Linked DNA regions of Homo sapiens: regions 1, 2, 3 and 4 are each linked to region 5. The links are contacts of gene promoters, found by promoter capture Hi-C in blood cells and fetal thymus (Javierre and others, 2016). All regions are on one chromosome and are shown on one strand. Each heading gives the region's core, a stretch centred on a gene start or on the middle of the fragment in contact. The rest is flanking DNA. Distances are from core to core; before and after follow the strand shown. Region 1 has its middle 460 kb from the start of FAR2. Region 2 has its middle 400 kb from the start of CCDC91. Region 3 has its middle 420 kb from the start of CCDC91. Region 4 overlaps LOC105369711 (a long non-coding RNA gene). Region 5 holds the start of PTHLH (parathyroid hormone like hormone).

Region 1 (3,129 bases), core at 374-2,873, 720 kb after region 5:
TATATAATATATATATAATATATATATTATATATATATATACTTAATCAGGGACGTTATACTTCATAAATTGATTTGCTGCCTTTGAAATTGTTTGGCTGTCAATATTTGCAGCTGATACAGTTAAATGACTGCATGATCTGCAAAAGAGGTCAATGAATGCAAGGGAGGTCAATGCCATAAAAAAGCTGAGGAGATGATTACTTAAGAAATGACAGCAGCAACAGTCTGAGCAGCAACACAGAGACCACCCAGAGAGGCTGCCTGTCAGCTGTGGCTGCCCCCACCCACACCCAGTTTGAGAAAAGAAATGATGACAGCCTAGTGAAGAGGCACAACTCTTACCAATAAAAAAGACTGTCAGCAGCTTTGCAGATGGGCTCAGAAAAGCCTCTTAGCCTATAACACACTTATCTCTCCTCAAATATCCCTAGCTTTCTACATATTTATTAGGGCCATCAGTAAATGAAGAGCAGGGGAGTATGAAAAAAATATGACTCATGGGGATGTCTTGTATCCATACAGCTCTTCAATGAACATTTTCTTTGACCCTCTTAACAAAATGTTGGAGAGGCAAGGCAGTGGAATTATAATTATTCTATTTTGCAGATCAGAAATAAGGAGAGTTCTGTGGTCTTGCTCAACTGGTTAATACCACTATGTTATTACTATTAGCTAATGTTTATTGAGCAATATGTATTAGACACTGTGTGAGCTAAGTACTTTAAATGGATCATTTCATTTGCCCTCAAAGAACCATTTGGGGTAGATAATATTATTTTTCTTTCTTCTTTTATTTTTATTTTTTTTTTTGAGATGGAGTCTCACTCTGTCGCCCAGGCTGGAGTGCAGTGGCTCCATCTCGTCTCACTGCAAGCTCCGCCTCCTGGGTTCACACCATTTTCCTGCCTCAGCCTCCAGAGTAGTTGGGACTACAGGCGCCCACCACCACGCGCGGCTAATTTTTTTTTGTATTTTTCGTAGAGATGGGGTTTCACTGTGTTAGCCAGGATGGTCTCGATCTCCTGACCTCGTGATCCGCCCACCTCGGCCTCTCAAAGTGCTGGGATTGCAGGCGTGAGCCACTGCACCTGGCCAATATTATTTTTCTTAATGTACGGATGAGAAGACTTTGGCTCAGGGGGTTATAACAAGATGTCAAAGAAGTAGAGCCAAAATCCAAGCCTGGAGTCTAGAATCCATACTCTCCACCTTGTTTTGACTCTGTAATATAAATCAATACTTTTGAATGCCTATTGCTTGAGTTATTTTGCATTTTGGGAATTTTGCCATCAATGTTTTAGACTCTTGTCTATAAGCTTAGGCTAATTATTTGAACATTTATCTAACAGATTTATTTAGTGCTTAATATGTGCCAGGCATGGGTATAGATTTTGAGAAAATACTCACTAAAACACCGGCCACCTTTTCTATGTAAAGATAGTTAAATTCTTTGCTTTCCTTTAATCTTTCTTAATTAGTTATACAAGGATGCTATTTTTCTTCCTACATGGGAACTCCCATATACACGTTGTGGAGCAATAGTAGGAATCATCAGGCTTAAGAAACATTGGCAAGAGGTTTGGAGTTCAGAGACTTTTAATAAATATGCATAAAACAAAGAGAAAGGACTTGCCAGACAGTAAAATGAACAGTGTTAGGGAGAACACTTATCCTCCACTGCCCGTACTACTCTGTGGAAGAAATCTCCATGAGCGTAACTCTTTTGACCTCTCTTTGGCCCGTTTTTCATTCTTCTCCAGATCTGAGTTTTGTAGAAGGAATTGGAAGTATAGGGCTTAATCTCTTCTGTATTTAGCTGGGAGTCTTGTGGCCTGTAGAGAGGTTGCATATGTGTCACACCCTCTCTGCAGGTGTGGCATGTTCTGGGGAGGACTGCTGATGTCCTGTGCTATCTGTGAATAGTAAGTAAGCTTGCATATTCAGCGATGAAGTGTCATAAACCCATTAGGCTTAAAGCTGATGCTCATTCTCTAATGAGTGGTGTCTCTAGTGAGGGAGCAAACTGACAGACAATTCTGATATATGATTTATAATTCCAGAGAAGATATAAATCCATTGATTCTTCTCTGCCAATTGTTTGGATTTAATAAGAAGTAACTCTTTATCTTCCAAATTCAGACAAAATTCAGAAAAACAAGCAGGAGTGAGAGATTAAAGTAACTTTTTAATCATAAGCACTAGAGATACCACTCTATTAATTTCCAGCATGCAATATGTACATTCCAAGTCCTTAAAAGCTGCCCAGTAAATGTTTGTTCACACAGAAAAGAATGGGATTCAGGTCTCATTTGTAATGTGAAGTGTTTGTTTCAATAATTTCTCAAACTCCAATTCGTATCATCCTGAGATTCTAATGAGAGATGAATGGGGTTAAAAAAATGCAAGGAGGACTTCTACTTCCAGTAAAGATAGAGTAACAGGGACTGAATTAAATGATCTACCTTAAACAAGTAGAAAACTGGTCAATATACATGAAAGAAAAAGTTTTCAGACCTTGGACAATAGGTAATTACACAAGATGATCCCTACAATTGCACCAGCTTATAGGCTACAAGTTTGAGATAGTCTATTAGTTAGGGTTCTCCAGAGAACCAGAACCAAGAGAATGTATATACATATATAGAAAGAGATTTATTATAAGGAATTGGCTTGTGCAATTCTGGAGGCTGGGAAGTTCAAAATCTGTAGCCTGCAGACTGGAGACCCGGCACAGCTGATAGTGAAGATGCAGTCCAAAAGCAATTCGCTGGAGAATTTCCTCTTGCTTAGGCAGGCCAGGCTTTTTGTTCTATTCAGGCCTTCAACTGATTGGCCTTCTATTCCGGCCTTCAACACTTTGTGGAGGACAATCAGCTTTACTCAAAGTTCAACCATTTAGACGATAATCTCATCCCAAAGTCTTCAAGAAAAAGACCCAAATGCAACTTTCAGCAAACAAATGCTGAGAGAATTCATTGCTATGGAGAATGTTAAAGGACGTTCTTTAGGAAGTAAGATTATTATATAGACATTTGGATCTAAACATGGAAAAGAATAGTGCCAGAAACAGTAAATATATGGGTAAAAACATTTTTTACCCTTTTTAATTTCTTTAAAGAATATTGAC
Region 2 (3,239 bases), core at 261-2,760, 620 kb after region 5:
ACTGGGAATAAACCACATTAAAATGAATAAGAAGAGCAAATTAACTTTACTCGTGTTAGCCCATCTCCCAAGGCTGCACAGCTTAGTGCTGAGACAGAGATTTCTTTGGTCCATGACTTCTCCCTGAGGAAAGAATCAGAATGAAACATAATCCATTGTTCCTAGCCTTTTGTACTGCTGCTTGAGGGACCAGTTTCTGTTTTACCTCACCTGGAATGCTGATGGGACTGGCAGACTTTGAATACCTGGGGACAGCTAAGAACAAAGGCAAGGGACAGGCAGCTTACCACAGCCTGCATATTTCAGCAAGATTTGGTGAAGGCACACAAATAAAATTTATCCTCAGGGAGGGAGGAAGAGGAATAGAGTATGCCTCCAATGACCTGGCTCATGGTACAACAGTCAGACAACAGAGGGTGCAAGACATTATTGGCTTTTGAAAAAAATGAAATACATAGTAACTCTCTCCCTCCCCCAGTTAGGTATCTACACATGCAAATCCAGAGAAGACATATCATAGAAAAGATCTGAAAGGCTCCCAGAATCTTTAGCCACGATAATTGATGAAATTCTTTCCCTGTAGAGGCCAGTCCATAAAAAAAGGGAGAGGTGGCAGTTTCTTCAAATGCGCAGATACTAACAGAAAGCCACAGGAACATGAAGAATTGGGGAAACATGACCCACTCAAAGAAACAAAATTCAAAGTAATTGTCTTAAAGAAGCTCAGTGACTTAGTTTATAATACAGACAGACAACTGCCTGAAATCAGGAAAATAATACATGAACAAAACTAGAATATCAACAATGAGAAACTATAACAAAGAACCAAACAAAAATTCTGAAGCAAAAGAATAGAATCACTGAACTGAAAAATTCACCAGAGGTCTTCAACAGCATATTTGACTAAACAGAAGAGAGAAACAGTGAAATCAAAGAATCAAAGACAAGTCATTTAAAATTATCCAGAAGACCAAAAAAAGAAAAGAAAAGAATAAGAACCAAACACATTATGGAAGTTCAAGAAAGGGAAGAGAAAAAGGAGCAGAATGCTTATTTAAAGAAATAATGGTGGAAATGGTCATCCGAGATTCATGAAGCTTAACAGACACAAATACGAGGAATCCAAAGAAGTCTATGCCAAGAAACATAATTAAATTATCAAAAATCATAGACCAAGACACATGATTAAATTGTCAAAAGTCAAAGACAATGAGAGAATTTTGAAAGCAGCAAGAAACAAGCAGCTCATTGTGTATAAAGTAGCCCTGTAAGACTATCAGTGGATTTCTCAGCAGAAACTTTGCAGTGGGAAGGAGATGGAATTATATTTTCAAAGTGTTGGGGGAATAAAAATGTTACCAACCAAGAATACTACACCCAGCACAGCTATCCTTCAGAAGGAGGGAGAAATAAAGACTTTCTTAGACAAATGCTGAGGGAGTTTATTACCACTAGATTTGCCTTACAAGAAATGTTAAAGGGAGTTCTTCAAATTAAAATGAAAGGACACTAAACAGCCACATCAGAGCATATGAAATTATAAAAGTTACTGGACAAGATACGTATATAAACAAATATAGAATAGTATTATATTGGTGATATGTAAACCACTTTTAATTCTAGTGTAAAAGACAAAAGTATTGAAATTACTGTAATTATTAATACACAATATAAAAATTGTTTAAAAATTTGTGTAAATTGTGACAACAATAACATAAATGTATGTGTGAAGTAAAAGTATAGTTCTGCCAAAACAAATTTGTGTTTAATAAAAATAATTTACATTGCTTCAACTTTTTAAAAATTAAAACAGTACAAAGCATTTCTCAGTTTCACTAGCCATATTTCAAGTACTCAATATCCCACATGTGGCTAACAGCTAACATATTGGACAGCACAGCTTTATACAAAAAGTGCTTATTCATAAGCTTTACCTCACATCAGGTCAGCAAAATTTGGAAACTATTTTCCCCAGTGAGCCAACAACAGTCATTGAATGGGAAGAAGGGAAACAGGTCCCACTTACACTCTCTTGGTCTTTCAAAGGCCCCACAAATGACATCAATTGGCAAATTATTTCCTGTAATTTCAAACTTTTCTTCTTAAGCTTAAATTTTTTCAGAGAAGAAAAAAACCTCAAATACAACACAGATGGCATTTACTAGTAAAATATAAATTTTCTTTACCCATAAACTTCCCATTTTGAGACTTTGCTAAGAAAATGAAAACTATAGTTCATGTTAAATATTTGTGTAATAGTTAAAAAATAAGAAATAAAACTTTAAATTGAAATCCAGCAAATAGAAAAAATAGATCCAAGAAAACACCCTATTCCATTGGAAGACAGAAAGAGGAAGATACAAGTAGAAGAAACAAGGAAAAAGTATGGTAAAAAAAACAACAAAAAAAGATGAAAGAAATAGGTTAAAATTTATTATGAATCATAATAAATGCAAAAGGGATAAACTTTTCTTTTAAAGTGGGAAACCCCAGATTTTAAACAAATCTAGCTCTATGCTCTTTATGAGACCCACTTAAGATGAAATGATGCTAAAAGGATGGATAAGGATATAGCAGACATACTCACTGTCTACCAAAAAACTAATGTTAGCAATATTATATCCATTGAATTTAAAATTTGGCTGTTATACAGGATTTAAGCATAATGAATTATTACTACGTGTAGCAATAAGAATAGATCTCAAAAATATAATAGTTCATGAATTAAGCAAGTTGCATAACAAATGAACAACATATGATTTACATATAATTTAAAAATATGCACAAAGCAATAACATGGTTATTCTGTGGATATGTACACAAATATTTACAAGTAATTTTTTAAAGATGTGAAGGCTATACACTAATTTATAGTAGTGATTACATTGCAGAAATGGGGAATCTTGAAAAGGAGACACAGGCTAAAGAAAATTTCTATTTCATCAGTAACTTTTTTATTTTTTTATTTTATTTTAAGAAAATGATGTATTCATATACTTCTGTGATTTCCTTTAACATATATTCATGGGGAAAAAAACCTGAGAGCAAATAAAGCAAAATATTAAGAGTATTTAATTGTCAATAGTGGGAGTAAGAATGTCTGTCATTTAATTCCTTGTACTTCTCTGTGTTTTTTAAATTTTCAGAAGGAAAAAAGAGGAGAGGGAGGAAAAGATCAAGGGATGGGGAGAAAATGACATAAGTAAATGATCTGTCCAGCTGTTATATTTTATAATTAA
Region 3 (3,210 bases), core at 81-2,580, 640 kb after region 5:
GTCATCCTCATCATTCCCTATGGAAGCCTAAGGCAGGTGGCACAGACTCTGTTGTTTCTCTCCTCTGGGCTTCTTTGTGAGCCATGTCCTACACTCCAGACCTGGAGGTCCACTCGTGTCAGTTACCCTGTGTAGATGAAATAATGCACATTGTACTGGGGATGGGGACATTATGTCTGAAGATCAATTCTGGAATTCCACCCAGGATCATTTTTTCTTGTTGGTGGTTTTCCTGCTTTGTCCCATGAAGTATTCTCTACAATTCAAAGCAAAGAAAATGAAAAGTCTGAGAGTCTGAGTTCCTAGAGATAGGAATACCTCTATAAAACAACCTCTAAATAATTCCAAAATGCTCAACATGTCCCTATTTATGTCAAATAGTCTACGGACAGAAAGCCTATTGCTTATCCTTGGATGGCTCCTAGTGAAGAATGTCAGATAATGCAAGAATTTTTCTTTTTTGCTAATTTTATTATTTCTAAAATTTTAGTTTTTACATAAGAAATATATGGCATCTGGTGAAATTATCTCACCCTATCTGAATTTAACTCCTTCCATCAGAGGACAAATGTAGATTTCCACTGACTTCACCAAAAATGCTGCATTTGTGTCTTAGATCAAACAGTGACCCATGGGATTATATAAATCATAAAATAATTGTTCTAGAAGAAGCTTGTACATAAAACATTCAAATGCTCCAGTGATGAAAGTCCTCCCTAACACAATGTGTGCCCAAGTGGAATAGCAGCACTCCCTCCTCTCCCCTCAAATCTTATGTGTGTTGAATATAATAAGACATTTGAAGGTATAAATCTTATAGCGAGCCAGGAGAGAGATACTTTTGATCATAGGATTGTGAGGCCAGTAAAAAGGCTCAGAGGATGAGCAATGGCATGTGTAGTGCAGGGTTAAACTAAAGCAAATTATATATATACATATATATGTGTATATATGTATACATATACGTGTATATACACATAAATACAAGCATATATATGTGTATATATACTTGTTTGTGTTATGTATATTTGAGTGTGTGATATATATCACATGTGACATATATATTTGATATATATATCTCTCTCACACACACACGTATGTATAGGCTTGAATAGAGATCATACATGGAGGCAGATGTTAAGTCAGGAGGCCAGCAGGTGGGAGAGGGGAAATATTTGAGTAAGCAGTGCTGAGTGTGGCAAAGGAAAGGATTTATGTGAAATGCTCTGAGGTGTAAGTCCTGCCTAATGGATTTCTGTCTATGCTGTGGTACCTAAGGAGAGAGAGACTTGTAACAGGGTTCTAAGCACAGGATCTACATGATCCAGTTAATGGGGGCAGAGGTATTGACAGGGCACTTCATCCTGGAGCTGAAAATGTGGCTTGGAGGCAATATAAAGGACTGAATTCTTTTCCAGAGGTAGTTTCTGGCTTGGAAGATAAAGCAGGTTCAGATTATAAAAGCCAATATATGTATCAAGTTAGATTTAAGGAAAACTGAGTATTCTATCTATTAGTGTATATGCCTCTCCCCACTGCAGTACATTATAACACATATCCAGAATGTTTAGTCCTGGAATATGCTGATGAGCATCTCTGGGGAGGCAAGGATGCAGAGGAGTAGGGAAGAACTGAACTTGGATTCCAAATTTGCACACTAGAGAGAAGAACCAATGTTTATACTCTTAAGCAGAGTATACTAGTTTCTTAGAGATGCCATAACAAAATGCAACAAAATGCATGGCTTTAAACAACAGAAATTAATTATCCTATTGTTCTGGAGGCTCTGGGGGAGTATCTGTTCCATACTGTCTCTCAGCTTCTGGTGGTGGCTGCAATCCTTGGTGTTCCTTGCCTTGCAGATGCATCATCGAAGGAAGAAAGAGGAAAACAATATGAGAAAAAGATAAAAAATGGGTGGAAAGTAAAGAAAGATAAGAACTTCTAAAATACTTTCTTTAAGTCACAGATGTTGGATCAGTTCAATCAAAGCTTAACATTCTAGTTAGATTTATAGAACTGCAAAAACACAGAAATAGATACACATTTAAAACATGGAAGAAAAAAACTTTTATCAATAAAAATTATTGTAAACATTTGAAAGCATGCTATGCCATAATATGAAGTTCAAAGTAGGTTTGAAATTTCTGTTTTGTGAAAGCCTAACAGTTTTACGTATCACAAGGATGATGAAGAATGGGCTCTTGTGATGGCAGTTCACCATTTCCAATTCATTTGTTGGGTTTAGAAAAATATTTCAGAGTCTCCACTTCTCTTAAGAGGAATCTTGTCTTCCATTTTTCTGTACACATTAAGCCTTAAATTGCTCCCACAGGCCCACGTGTGCAATATGTACTACACTGTTGCCCACAAGGGTTTAATATAAATGTGACATCCTGCTGTGTAAGAAGAATTGTGCTGTGATTTTATAACTAACATTTTCAGAGGGAGCCATTATTTAAAAGACATAAGAATTCAAGAACCATTTGGCTGATGAGATTTGAGCCAATTGGGATCAACTACCCTGTCATCATTCATGCAACAGAACATAAATTTGAATCAGATGAAAGGAAATTTGCAGGTCAAATGCAATGGGTTCTTCCAAACTGTCACAGTGAAAGACAATGCCTTGCTTGAGTAGAGAGGAAGAAATAAGTATCCTTTTTAAAACATTAAATATCAGAGTGAAACCAAAGCAATTGAACGATAGCAATTGCCTCAGTCTAATGACCTCATTTCTGTCATGCAACCTGGAGAAACAAGATGTCAAAAATAATCCGTTAAAAAGTAGAGCAAGATACATACAAGACCTATATGAAGAAAACTATAAATCTTTATCAAGAACATAAAATAAGACAAATAAATAGGGCATGTACCATGCTCTTGGATGTAATTATTCAATATTGTAAAGAACTCAAATTACTCCAAAGTACTATATAAATGTTACATAATTTCAAAGCTCCAATGAAATATTTTATGAAGCTTAATTAATAGTTTCTCAAATTTATCTAAACTTGCAAGAATAACTAATAGGAAAATAGTTTAAATAGAAAAATTGTAGGGGTCTCGATCAATTAAACTAAGGGTTACTGGTGTCGGAATAGAGACAGTGATCATTGAAATAGAACAAAGTTTAGTAATCAACTTTTTACACGTAATAAATATGACTATGATAAAGGTACATTTTGAATGAAGAGGGGAAATAATTTC
Region 4 (3,049 bases), core at 512-3,011, 760 kb after region 5:
TTAATTAATTTATGGCTTAGTCTGGACATCAAAGTTAAAAAAAAGGTTTTCAGGTGATTTTAAGGTTGAAAAATGCTCTTCTATATGTTGAGTTATATGCCTCTTATTCAGGCTTGCATCTTCTTGCTTTGTTGTGTTTTTCTTTGTACTTGTGGTCTCTGTTCACCTGATAAAGAATGCTTTTTCTGGTTCACATAGCTTGCTTCTGTGATTGTGGCCAAAGAGAAGATCATTGTCAGAACAAAGTGTCCATTTCAGTAGTGGAGAATCCCTATTCAATATGAGTATGACCAACTGTCTATGATTTCTCTGCTCCAAGTACCCACACTGTCCTATTCAGTGCTTGCTTAGCACAAGTTAGGGGAGAAGCTTTATCTGCCTATGCACTATGAATGCTGTTTGGTAGCCAGTACCCCAGATGGTTTTTATAGAGAATCCTTCTGCTCCTTAAATTTTTAATTCTAAATATGTAGAATTCCCTGAACTCCTCCTACCCTTTTTCATTTACTTTTTTTTTCATATGTAAGCTCTGGAGTGTGGCTTATTTTATTAATCTGATCCTACCAGCTTTTAACCTTTCAGGGAACTCCTCCAAATTTCTGGGCCATTATTGAACCTTTTTCTTGTTTCCTGGAGGAGTTGTGGATTTGAGAGGCATCTTCTCTGTTCTTTCTATAGATTTTAAGTAGGAGAAGTAGATAGGGACATGCTTGATTTAATTTCCCTCCTTACATTACATAGCATGTTCATATATGCTGTATAAATGTCCTTTATACATACAATCTCATTTAATTGTAATAATAATCTTGTCAAAAATGTATTGTTCCCATTTTATAAATAACAAAATTAAGGGTTTTAGACATTCATTGGGTTACCACTGGTTCCACAGCCTTTTGGTGGCATAATGGAGACTGGAGTTGAGATCACCTGAATCGAGTTCAGTGTTCTCACTGTACCACACTGCCTTAAAAATATTCTCAAATCATTTACATTTTCCACAAAAGCTCATATAAACTTGTAGATTCCTTTTATTCCCCTTCAAATCTCTGAACAGGTTGATACTGGCTGGTAGTTACTCTAATGTGTTTCATACAAATAGGCTGGTTTGACACCCATATCTTGAGTAAACAGTCAAATTCAATAAACATGGAGAGTCAGTACTCATTTGGATAGAAAATTCCTTTAATTTCTTTGGATTGTTAGAACAGGCACCAGCAGAATTCTGCCTTCAGGAGAAAGCATTTCTTAGAAGTATGGTGGTATACCCATCTATATGAATGTACAGTGACCATCATCTATTTGGCTGGTTAGAAGATGTAAAACAAGCAGGTAAATACAAATGTGGGAAGGTAGGTCTTTGTTAGGCAACAATATACTTCAAGTGATGAGGCATGAGGATTATCTTAAACAATGAAGATATACAGTTTCTTCGTTCTCAGAAGTGCTAGGAGAGAGAAATGAAAGGCTAGCCAAACTGGAAGAGGAGGACCAAAAGTCTTGCACACTATAGTCAGAGCAATTCTTACTTTTGAAATTCAAACTTTCCTTTGAGTTTAGTGTTTAAAGGGCAATTGGCTGAAATAAAAATAACTTTGGTTAAAAACAAGTGGTGATTCAGTTTAAATGCTGAACAACATTCAGCTTCAACTGTTTTGAGAACAAGCTTATGCTGTGGGACAATTTGGATTAACAGTATTAGAAAGAAACCTGATCAAGGTCTTCAGTCTTTATCAAAAGAGATGAGTTTAGTGAAGTTAACTCCTTTCATCTCACCCCATCTAGGCAAAAACAAAGGGGACGGAGTGAGAAATGGAAGTTTAGCTAGATCTTTATGGCAAACAAAAAGTTTAAATAGGTTTTGAAGCTTTTTATAAAAAGATCTCAATCTATCTGTCAAGGTCATGAAAAGTATTTGTCTTTTTATTCAGACCTCATGATTAAAAGTACACTGGTATTCAGAATTTGCCAGTGGACAGTTGGGGTGGATAGAAGCTTCTTTAAATATTCCATATCACACAGTCATATAGTTAGCTATTTAGGTATTATGCCTTCTAAGCTATGACCAGTCAACCCCAAAACACCTCTGTCCAAAGACTTGATTCATCCAGATACAGAGATAAATAGAGTTAAACAGTTGAAAAATTTATGAAAGAAATGGGCTTGGTCTTTGGTGTGCTCAGCCAATTTTCTGTATTAGATTAATCATGTGCTTGTTATTCTCTATTTGTCCTGCTAGATCTGCACTCCACCCTTTTCCACTTTTCTCTGTGCCCAGGAGATTGATTTATATGGAATTCATCAACTGGAATCTTTCCTTGTTCTCTTTCATTTGCATTTGGCCAATGAGAGCCACTGGCAGGAGGCTTGAGGGTGGTGGGGGGAGGGACTGGAGTATTTTCCTTGCAGCCAACTTCCTTCCTGGCCAGGACTTGGCACTGGTTGCCTTCCTCTAATGAAGGCACTGTTTCCATCAGTGGTCCTCTCCTACAGCCTCTGCTAGAGCCACAGCCTTATCTGAGATTCCCTTTTCTCTTCAGGGATACAGACCCTTGCTGTTGCTAGCCTCTTGGTGTTTCTACTTCTGTTATTATTATTTTTTTTCAGTCCTGGCCTCATCACCATAGATAGTCTCTTCATTAACTCTGCTTAACAATGTTGTTTGGGTGTGCAATCTATGTCCTGTCAGTCTTAGATTGTTACACCACCTAAATCACATCTTCTGCAGATGTAAAAAGGGAGCTGGCACTAGTTAAATTGTTAATGAAATTATCCACCATCTATGTTTAATTATCCAATTTCAGTATATACATATAGTGGTTTCAGAATAGTCAACCCATGCTCCCATGGGAAACAACTTTACTAACTAAAGTACAGTGCTTACATGCAGTTCCTTTGCCTTTAGACTTATAATCCACTTATTTCCAAAGCTAATAGCTTTTGCTAAGTAACTAAGTTTGTTAATAGTAACTAATATTTTAAAATTTTATTTTATTCAAGAAATCTTGTTTGGTGTTAACTATGAGTCACACATGGAATTTACGAGTCTAGT
Region 5 (3,096 bases), core at 316-2,815:
AGGTTACAGATTCTTGGAAGACTGTATCCGAGTCGCTGCAGCCAGCGGACAGATGCAGTGGAACTATGGTTATGTGCTGCTCTGCCTGGGAGAAGCGACGGGAAAGCCGAGGTTCTTTCCAAAGCTAATGGGCGGGGAAGAAAGACTGCTCGGAATTACTGGGTAGTATCATCTAGGAAAGGATTGCAGCGGGAGTGGATACCCTCCCCAGGGCTCCTCTAACTTTTTGAAAAGAGCGCGAGTGGACTGGGAACCATTCAAGGGATATTTGTCTTCTAGGCAATCCTGCTGGTAGGGTTCATTAGTTTCTAGAAGGCTAGTGTGATTTAGATTCTTGAGATGATTCAAGGAATGTGGCCTTTATCAAGCCCGACTTTCCGGGTGATGCTCCACATATTTTACCCAGGGTGGGAGAAATAGCACGCTGTCACCGAGACCCTCGCTCATCGGGGCTCCCACTGGTTCACTGCAGCTAGCTAGCAGTTAAAGTTTACTGCTTAGGTTGGGTGGGGGGGCATATTTTCTTAGAAGCTCCTGCCTTCCTCAGTTCATTACTGTAAACCCCGTACCTTAAAAGACTCGGCTTCTTCTCACTAACAAAGAAAAAAAGCAAAACAAAACCAAAACACACACACGCACACACACACACTCTCTCTCTGGGAATTTCCACAACTTCCCTTGAATGTGTAAGGATTTCTAAATGTTAGACTTGTTTGGATAGTATGAAAGGACAAAGTATCAGCACTCAGAAATGTCAACCTTTGAACCTCGAACACTTTCTGATTTATAAAAAGAATCCTTCCAAAAAGATGCAGGAGCCCTAATGTAATCGTTAGATCTGAAGGGGGAAATCTGTAAAAAAAAAAAAAAAAAAAAAAAAAAAGTCAATCACAAATGAGCCATTTAATACTTGCAAGTTGTTTAACATTGAAATGATAATATTTGCTTCCACAATAAAAAGTCCAAGGTACCTAGCCAAGTTTCAAACTATCCAGGCTTTAAAAAGTCAACCCTTCTCCCAATAGAAGGTTAAAACAAAAATCAGATTGAAATTATCAAATCACTTATGTTGTAAATAAATTCACTTTACTTTCAGAACATTATAAATTAAGGACTGGCATCAATAGACTGCTTTGATTTATGTTGCTTTTTCTACTAATTAAACAAAATTAACCCCCCACTCCTTCCCTCCTTTCTTTTTCCCCACACACTTTTCTGGTGTTAATGGCAAAACATCTATCAAATATTTTTAGAATTTCCTCTCCTCCACAAAAAGAGAAAATATAGACACAGGAAAAATAAATAGTCTTTATATACTCGGAATACCAAAGTTCCCTCCTAATTTATTACTTCACCTTTTCCTTGATTTACAATCTTCTCTCTGCTCTTCTGGCTGAAAGAGGGAAATCTTCTCAGCAGTCTTTTCCAGAAATATTTTTTGTTGTTCTTCAGAAAACATAAAATTAAATCTTAAAATGAATTAAAAGCTTCTTGAAAGGAGACTTCTGTTCCCACTAAAGGCAATTATTAGAAAGCAGGTACCTCTTCCAAGCTGCCCTGTTTATTACTTTCCGTAGAAATTCTCCTCAATATATACCCAGGACCCTGACTTTTTGCCTGTTTTGGAAAGGATATTTTCTGACATCATAATCTAGTTCCTAACATAACTGAGTAATCTCCATCATAATAATGCAGAGGATGCATGACTGCAAATGAGACACAGCAAGAGCACCCCCTACCACCTCCCTCCCCCCCCCGTCCCCCCAGCCCACACACACACCTTTTTTCTAAGGTTTAGAAATAGAACAAGTGCCAATAGAAGCTAAATGTTTGCTTAGGCCTTGCTGTCATGTAAATGCACCTTAGCAAATGGGAAGGCCTGCCTCTAATCTGAAGTATTTCCATGTTTAGCATTATAAGATCTACACCTACACAAATGCCTAGCCCATGAGCACCAGGCTTCCATCTTCCCATCCCCAGTGGCAGTTTATTACAGTATATCAAATTTTAAAAGAGGTTGAAAAAATTTTAAATGCATTACTCTTAAATTCAGTTGAATACCCAGTTAATGTATATCTCCTGTCATAGCTTAGAAAAAAGTAAATAGCATTTATGCTTAGCCTCTTCATCCTTCTTTCTTCTTTCCTCCTTAACCCAAACAGCAAACAGATATACATTATAAACCAAATATGAATCTATAGCACTTTAAACAGTGCACCTGGGCTTGGGAATTCTCTTATTACCAATAAGCATCCAGATTTCACATTTACCAATCTGTAGCTGCAAGCTATGTCTCTAAAATCCCCTGGAACCAAACAACTAAACTCATCCCATCTCTTCTCCAAACTTTTTTCAATGTTTACAAAGAGACGTTGCATAATCAGCTCAAGTAATGCTCTCATTGGATTCCATTAGAATGTGGCTCTCATCGCTCGCCTGGACTGAGACTTGAGAGGAGGCTGTTGCCAGCTGACCTCAAGGTAGCAAAAAAGAAAAAAAGATGTAATGCCTTCAAACCCCAAGTAACAATAGGAAAGGGTGTGTTTCTTTATTAAATCTTTTTGTAGTTAGGTGAGGATAAGACTTCTCCAGGAACAGGGCGGGCTGCTAACCTCTGGAGGAACTGCCTCAGGGAGGAGTGTATAGATATGCATCAAGCTGATGGGATCCTCCCATGGGAAAAGTGGGCCTCACACCCTTCCTCACCCTTCCCTACTTCCTGGGCAATGTTCTGCTTCCCCCAAACTGAAGCAGGAGGCCCAGAGAGGAGGCGGTTTCCTGGGAGGAACCCAAACCAATGTGAGATGAGAAGGTCTTTAGGAAATGGGGGTCTCTGAGAACCGGTTCTTAAAGGTCAAGCACTTGAGCACCTCGCAAACTCCTGACAATTGAAACATATCTGAAGAGTCTTCTTCAGATATGTCTCTGTGTGTGTGTGTGTGTGTGTGTGTGTGTGTGTGTGAGAGAGAGAGAGAGAGAGAGAGAGAGAGAATATGAATGTGCAGTGTCCCAGTCCTGATCTCCTGGACTGGTGCCAGCCAGCCAGATGCCTGCCCTTGGCTGGCCAAGTTTTTGGCTCCTGAAAGTAGGCAGCTC

The links. The method cuts DNA at HindIII sites, captures the fragments that hold promoters and counts their contacts. A CHiCAGO score of 5 or more calls a contact.
Region 1: a contact is called between a fragment that was not itself captured here and the fragment with the promoter of PTHLH in region 5, in 1 of 17 cell types (M0 macrophages). The highest score is 5.6, in M0 macrophages.
Region 2: a fragment that was not itself captured here is called in contact with the fragment with the promoter of PTHLH in region 5 in 1 of 17 cell types (M0 macrophages); the score reaches 5.6 in M0 macrophages.
Region 3: a fragment that was not itself captured here is called in contact with the fragment with the promoter of PTHLH in region 5 in 1 of 17 cell types (M2 macrophages); the score reaches 6.6 in M2 macrophages.
Region 4: a contact is called between a fragment that was not itself captured here and the fragment with the promoter of PTHLH in region 5, in 2 of 17 cell types (M2 macrophages and M0 macrophages). The highest score is 5.7, in M2 macrophages.

What each region holds. Positions count from the first base shown.
Region 1 is chr12:28,692,139-28,695,267 of GRCh38, forward strand. No RefSeq gene overlaps it. Among named protein-coding and RNA genes, the nearest start is that of FAR2, 460 kb to the right of the region's middle. The HindIII fragment of the contact is 615 bases long and covers 1,317-1,931 here.
Region 2 is chr12:28,591,842-28,595,080 of GRCh38, forward strand. No RefSeq gene overlaps it. Among named protein-coding and RNA genes, the nearest start is that of CCDC91, 400 kb to the left of the region's middle. The HindIII fragment of the contact is 831 bases long and covers 1,096-1,926 here.
Region 3 is chr12:28,612,281-28,615,490 of GRCh38, forward strand. No RefSeq gene overlaps it. Among named protein-coding and RNA genes, the nearest start is that of CCDC91, 420 kb to the left of the region's middle. The HindIII fragment of the contact is 1,320 bases long and covers 671-1,990 here.
Region 4 is chr12:28,728,025-28,731,073 of GRCh38, forward strand. The region is part of intron 2 of LOC105369711 (a long non-coding RNA gene); the gene reads right to left. Among named protein-coding and RNA genes, the nearest start is that of FAR2, 420 kb to the right of the region's middle. The HindIII fragment of the contact is 201 bases long and covers 1,662-1,862 here.
Region 5 is chr12:27,971,168-27,974,263 of GRCh38, forward strand. PTHLH (parathyroid hormone like hormone) reads right to left here and starts at 1,566. Exons shown (of 6, transcript NM_198965.2): 1 at 1,356-1,566; 2 at 760-852. The HindIII fragment of the contact is 3,977 bases long and covers 1,486-3,096 here.